2 separate regions of the Homo sapiens genome follow, and region 1 is linked to region 2. Evidence: promoter capture Hi-C in human tissues and cell types (Jung and others, 2019). All regions are on one chromosome and are shown on one strand. The core of a region is centred on a gene start or on the middle of the fragment in contact, and the rest is flanking DNA. Distances in the headings are between cores, read along the strand shown.

Region 1 (3,623 bases), core at 988-3,487, 47 kb after region 2:
TTAGTATATATTATTAATAATTATAATTGTCATTGTATGGCACAGAGGTAACCAAATTTCTCTGTCAATCATGTTTTTGACTGTGGCTGTCCTAAGACGTTTTGTCACCTACAGATAATTGTTGTCTCATTTTAGTCCTCTTTAGAAGGTGGTTTTATAGTCAGCTACAGAACTCCAACAGGTACACTTGAATACAGATTTCTGATAACTTTAGAGACTGTGACATCAGAACAGAGAAAACAACTTCCAGAAGTCTCATGGAGAGCTAAAATGTTCATGAATATCAAGCAGAACAGAAATTAACTTCATGGAATAAACTGAAGAAGTCTAAAGTAATCCGTTTATCTTTTTGCTTAAAACATTGCTGATTCTTTGTTTTGTTTTTCAGAATGAAGGAAATTTTTCTTTAGAGCTATTTACAGCCTTTGACAATTGAGTAGAGTATACTCCTGTGAACAAAATTTGGAGCATATTTGTTTCTCTCTAGCTGATTTCTCCAGAATTTGGAAACACATATTTGTGAGTATTCTTAATTTATGGTTATATGGTTATTTGCATAAGTTCAGTAAGAATCTGTTTTCTTTTGCAGCAGGACACCATTGGAGAAACTGGTTATTTTACCACAGCTTTGTCTGGAATGGTGTGTTTTCCTTTAAGGAATCAAACTTGACTTGTAAAGCCTATAAAAGCCCCTGGGAACCTGGCCTTACACCTTGTCTACCATAGTCCCTTATAGGGTTTGTGACCTGTGGTAAGTGAAGAATGTCACTCTCTAACAGGTCCAGGAGCCCCAAGTTATCTTGGGACCCCAAGAGGAGAGGAATTTACTCAACTCATAGATATTTGAAGGTGCAAACCCATGTCTGGGCTGGGCTCTTAAAAAGTCTTACCTACGAGTCCTTCTATGGAGCAGAGTTCCATCAAAGACAATTTAAAAAGAGTTTATGTAACAAAATAATTATTCTTTCTGCCATTTATACAAATAATCAGGCCAAGTATAATAAAGCCAATAAGTCTTATCATGATTTGTCTTTAGTAAAAATGAAAAACTGGAGAGAGAAATATTATGTTTCCAGAACTATGGTACAGTTGTTATTAAATTCTCATCTCATCAGTTGTTTATAACTTTGTTTCTGCAATGTAGGCTAACCCTACTTATTCTTGCGTACCAACCAGTGATCTCTAACTGCTGCTCAGAAAAAACAAGAAGGATGGGTAATGTAAAAATCTAAATCAGTTAATTCTGGGCACATTGCAAATAGCTAGCAACCCCACATCAGCTTGGTTCCACCTGTTGCCCAGTTCATGAAAAGTCTTCTAATTTAGTTTGTTTGGGATAATTTTACTTGTTTTGCTTTATTCTTGTGGAATATATTGCTGTTGTACTCTTGGTATAGGAATGCAGAATAAGCTTACTAAATGTTTTCTTAAATTGAACACTTAATTAATCTCCCAGATATCACCTTTTGTCAGAACTCAAGAGTTATAAATGACCCTCAGCATACCAACTCTTTCTAACTGAGCTCCTCTCTACCCTGAACACAAGAGACCCTAATGGTTAGGCAGGAATATCATCGCCCGTATTCAGCCTGAAGATGTTACAGAAGATGGATCTTCATCCCTCAGCAACCCTTAGGATTAAGAGTTTTCTTATAAAAGTGGGGGAAATAGCAGAGGTGTTTGAAGCAGAGCTACTCCATCTTGAATAGGAGCTGGGTTAAATAAGGGTGAGATCTACTGGGCTGCATTTCCAGATGGTTAAGGCACTCTAAGTCTCAGGATGAGACAGGAAGTTGGCACAAGATACAGGTTATAAAGACCTTGCTGATAAAACAGGTTGCAGTAAAGATGCCAGCTAAAACCCAGCAAAACCAAAATGGAGACGAGAGTGACCTCTGGTCATACTCACTGCTACATTCCCACCAGCGCCATGACAGTTTACGGATGCCATGGAAGCATCAGGAAGTTACCCTTTATGGTCTAAAAAGGGGAGACAGGAATAATTCACCCCTTGTCTAGCATATACTCAAGAAATTACCATAAAAATGGGCAACCAGCAGCCCTCGGGGCTGCTCTGCCTATGGAGTAGCCGTTCTTTTATTCCTTTGCTTTCCTAATAAACTTGCTTTCACTTTAAAGACTTGTCCTGAATTCTTTCTTGTGCAAGATCTAATAACTCTCTCTTGCGTCTGGATTGGGACCTCTTTCAGGTGTCCATCAGCAGTGGATTGGATAAAGAAAATATGGTACGTATACACGATGAAATACTTAGAGCCATAAAAAAGAACAAAATCAAGTTCTTTGCAACATCAGGAATGCAGCTGGAGGCTATCATCCTAAGTGAATTTAAAGCAGGAACAAAAAAAACAAATACCATATCTTGTTACTTACAAGTGGGAGTTAAACATTTGGTACTTATGGGCATGCAGATGGCTACAATAAACAATGGGAACTTCTAGAGTGGGGAGAGAAGAAAGGGGCAAGGATTAAAAACTGGTTGGGTACTATACTCAGTACCTAAGTGATGGGATCAATTGTACCCCAACCCTCAGCATCATGCAATATACCCATGTTATCAACCTGCACATGTGTCACTTGAATCTAAGATAAAAGTTGATTTTTTATTTTCAAAAAAGAAGGCGAACAATACATAGGAAATTACCAATACTAATAACTACTTTGGGAATACGTAAAAAAATTCAACTTTAGTATCAATAAAAATATAACAATAATGAGGGAAAAATAAACACTAAACAAAAGATTCCATGGGTATGGCCAATAAACATAAAAAAGGTGTATAAAAATCACTAGTCACCAAATAAATGCAACTTAAAACCACAGTGAGATGCCACTTAGCAAATGGCTGAAAGAAATATGGCAAATGTTGGTGACGATGGAGTTCGTAGGCGTCTAGGAAATTGCTGGTGGGATAGTAAAATAATGAAACTAACTTTGGAAAACTGTTTGGCAATTTCTAATTTAGTTGAGCATATGCCGACTCTATGGTCCAGAAATTTCATTCATGGTTTTCTTCCCCCCGAGAAAAAACTAAAAACATATGTTCACAAAAAGAAACTGGAACAATCAATATTCATTGTGCTCTATTTTTTAAATCTTGAGAAAATTTGATGTCAGTCAATAGATGAAAGAATACACACATTGTGATATTATTAACAAAAGGGAATATACGGCACCAATAAAATGAATAAAACATATCACCACATGAAGCTTTTCGAAAACATTAAGTTGAGTGAAAAAAGATGCATATGATAAAAAAAATGTATGATTTCATTTTTATGAAGTTCTAGAAGAAGCAAGTTAATGTATGGTGATAGCAATCACTACAGTAGCTGTGTCTGGGGTCAGGAATTGATTTAAGAAAGGAACATGAGTGAATTTTCTGGAGTGAAGAAATTTTCTGTATTTTGATCAGGTAGTCATTACACAGGTGTGTATATTCATCAAAGACAACAAGCTCTACCCTTTGAAATATGTGCATTTCATGGTATGTAAATATTGATTGAATAAAAAATATTATTTAAAAACAGAGGTATTCTTATAGATATACCTCTGCTTAAAAATATTTAATGGCTTCTTGTTGGTTTTAGAAGAATGTCTGCAAC
Region 2 (3,456 bases), core at 625-3,124:
ATGATAATCTTTCAAAGTTGTTTTCCCATTCATGGAGAGTTGTTATTGAATATTTTATGAAAAAGTTTTAGCTGAACTTTTACACTACCTTTAGCCTCTGAAAGAAATCACTTGCTTAAATTAAAATAAATAGAGAAGGTCTTATATCTCAGATGTGAATAGCATCCTACAAATATTTATTTTTATTCACACTGTCACAGCTGAGCAGTGGATTCCAAGGATACTGAGGGAGGTTATAAAATCTAGAACATTGAAAGTAATCTAATTTTAACTGCCACTCAATGCAGAAATCACTGAAAAGTAATATCTTTTTCCTTGTTGATAAACTCAATAATCCAAAGAAAACACAAAGGTCATAATAGTTCTATAAATTTATGATTTATAAATATACATTTAAAACAAGCCAAAGTATTTCTCCCTATAACTGTTTCCATTACTCACAGTTGTAAACCTTAAGTCTTTCTGTCTTCTGTGCTCTCTCTCTCTTTCTCACACACACACAACACAAACACACACACACACTGAATAATTAATTTTCTCCTATATTTAAACACAACCGTAATGTCCTCCAGTACCTAACATTTCATATTTTCCCTTTTCCATCATAACATTTCAGATTTATTCAAATATTTCATAATTTTATATTTAATCACCTAGTTGACATCTTCTGAGAAAACTCTAAATACTCTTTTAAAAATGTAAACAAAAAGCAAATATGATTGTCAGCAAAATGTGTCTTCCTTGAAAACACACCACCATTATGAGTGTACTCTCAATAATTCTGTTAAGAATCCAACCAGTTTTCATGGCAGAAGACATGCACTTGCTCAGTCTTTTAGGCACTGGCATGCCCGGAGAATCTCCCCACACACTAGGCCTGATGACATTACCGATGGAAATGGATGTCCAAGGAAAAGACGTCTGGGGGCCTGGAGCCCCCAAAACAGATCACAAATCAAACTTTGGAAACCAATAAAAGACAAAGAGAACATATTGGAATCAACAGTAAATGAATTTATTACGTGAAACAAAACTGAACTTCCATATACTTTATAAGATGAACTTACGTGATAACGAATCACTTGTTTCAAAATTATAGACATTTGACTCTATATTTTGCTCATTCATTAATTTCACAGTCTGAAAGAACTAGCCTGTCCAGCCAGTACTTGATGCCAGAGAAAGGATGAAGAGCTAGTAGTAAGAGGGGTTAGCTCACATTGCTGGAAATGCCTATGATAACAGCTCTACGTAGAGACTGAGACACTTTGCTTAAAAGGTCTGGAAATTCAGCAAGTTGATCTGCAGAAGGTTGATCCATAGGCTGGTCTGTAACAAGGAGACTGGCAGCTCCTAGAAGCCAAGTAGGTTGGGCGGCAGAATCCAGATCCATAGCCGAGGGAAGGGAAGCCACAGCTTCCATAACCCAGGGATCTGACACCACTGGACCCACAGCCCACTGAGTAGCAGCTCCTCGATCCATAGCCCAGGGAGCGGCAGCTGCTGGATCCAAAGCCTAGAGACCCAGAGTAAGTCGTCTTGCAAGGACTGCAGAGCAAGGAGGTTCTGGGGCGGTAGCAGGAGGTCTGGCAGGGGCTGGACTCCACATAGGACGTCTGGCAGCTGGTGGGCTCCCAGCAGATCTCCTGACAGCCCCTATAGAGAGAGGAACCCAGCTGGCAGGTGCTGGGAGAGCAGAGGTCAGTGCTGTAGACCAGATTGCTGGGGTAGGAAAAGCCACGTGAGGATGCTGGGTAGCGCAGGTAGTCACCACAGGAGCGGGAGGAGAAGTTTCCAGAGCAGCAGTTGTAGGACATGTTGACGGGAGATGTGAGTTCAGCTGAGTTATAGTGGAAAGATTCTCTGAGTTTGAATGTCATAGTCTGGACTCCAAGTTATATATGCTCTTAGACCTGGGTGTGTCCACTGTCTCGACACTCCCTTCTCCTTGCTCACTTTTTATTATAAGAATGCTTCCCTAGGTTATTGTTTAATTTATCACATCTTCATATACTTACTTGTACTTTAGTCACTCTGGAACACTTAGAAGGAAGCCACTCAGTTTTTTTTTTTCCTGGAATTCACTGTGGTTTGACCTTCAATGTTATATGTCATCACATTTATGAGTATCTTGCCTCTTATTATTTGAGTACAGTGAGTCCTTATTGTACCAAATGGAATTACACAAAATTCTTTCTTTACTTCCCTTAAGTTATCAGGAGCATCAGTGGTTACTACTCAAAATAGATTGTCCTTCTTTTTAACACAAGCATATTATTTGTTACCAGAAACGGAGGATTTCTCCAAATACTAACTGTATTCAGTAGCCTCAGCAATCTGTCAGTTAAACCTTTTACTAGTACCTTAAGAGCTCAGGATCAGAACTGAGGAGTGCAGCATTATGTTGGGTGTCCATATCAGGCATCTTCCTTAACAAGAGGCTACTTTAGACAATGCTCACTTAGGAAACAATAAACACAAACTTTTTAGTAAGACTTTAAATTGAAGTTTTTCAGATATTTTCTGATGAACCTATCTTGTAGCAAGCACTATTCTATGGTTATGCTCTAAATCAACTCATAAATTTTATTTTGTTTTATGTTTCAATTTTTTTTTCTGGATAAAAGGACAGATTCTTAGCTGCAATTATTAATTTATACTTAAACTTTGAGGAATTGTTAACATTTTTCTGAAGCTTTTAACTTGAAGTATTAGAGTTATATGGGTCTTTAAACATCCCCTGTTCAACCCATACATGGAAAAATTACCTCTCAGAGAGCTTTAACTTTCCCCTAATTTCTCAGTAAGATAGAAGCAAAATTGAAGCTTTAATTATGGTTTTCTTATTCAGAGTCAAGTTGCAAATACCTTGCAAATATAAAAGTAAATTCAACTTTAACTTGTCTCAGAAAAGAAACTATTAAGCTTATTTATACTAAGATATAAAAGCCTAACAAAGCCTTATTTACTTTTCCTAACAATATTCACACTGAATAGTGTTCAACTGGGGAATTCTATGCCTTACTGATCTTCATACATTTGAAGTATATTTCACTTCCTAGCCCAAGAAAGAGAAAGAATATTGGTAATCCATGTTTAGATTAATGGGGGGAAGAGGCTTCTTATCTGTGTCTATTCTTCTTCTTTTGAATTTGACATTTTATTTGGTTTAACTAAGGGAAATGGCATTCACAATGGTTATCGAAAAGAGAGCCTCTTAACTACCTGAAAATTAACTTCCTTCATTCCAAAGCACACTGTTTCAGAGCACTTAGTTACTTTGTTTTATGATTATCTCTCCCATGCAGAATCCAAAGTGTGGCATGCATCACATGAAGTGCCCTTGTGCAATACTTAAACCATCACTCTGATTCACTGAAGTAAAATAAGCTGTGCTTTATGAATGGACACCTATTAAATTCACCAAAAAGTATGCACCACCCCCAACACATGGGA

What was found. The method cuts DNA at HindIII sites, captures the fragments that hold promoters and counts their contacts. A contact is called where the count stands out against the background at its distance.
Region 1: a contact is called between a fragment that was not itself captured here and the fragment with the promoter of KRTAP13-2 in region 2, in 1 of the 25 tissues and cell types used here (heart right ventricle).

What each region holds. Positions count from the first base shown.
Region 1 is chr21:30,417,046-30,420,668 of GRCh38, forward strand. All of the region lies in intron 3 of LOC105372772 (a long non-coding RNA gene), which reads right to left. Among named protein-coding and RNA genes, the nearest start is that of KRTAP13-3, 7.1 kb to the right of the region's middle. The HindIII fragment of the contact is 4,108 bases long and covers 184-3,623 here.
Region 2 is chr21:30,370,397-30,373,852 of GRCh38, forward strand. It overlaps KRTAP13-2 (keratin associated protein 13-2), which reads right to left and starts at 1,875. Exons shown (of 1, transcript NM_181621.4): 1 at 994-1,875. The coding sequence starts at 1,817. The coding sequence ends at 1,290. The HindIII fragment of the contact is 3,845 bases long and covers 1-3,456 here.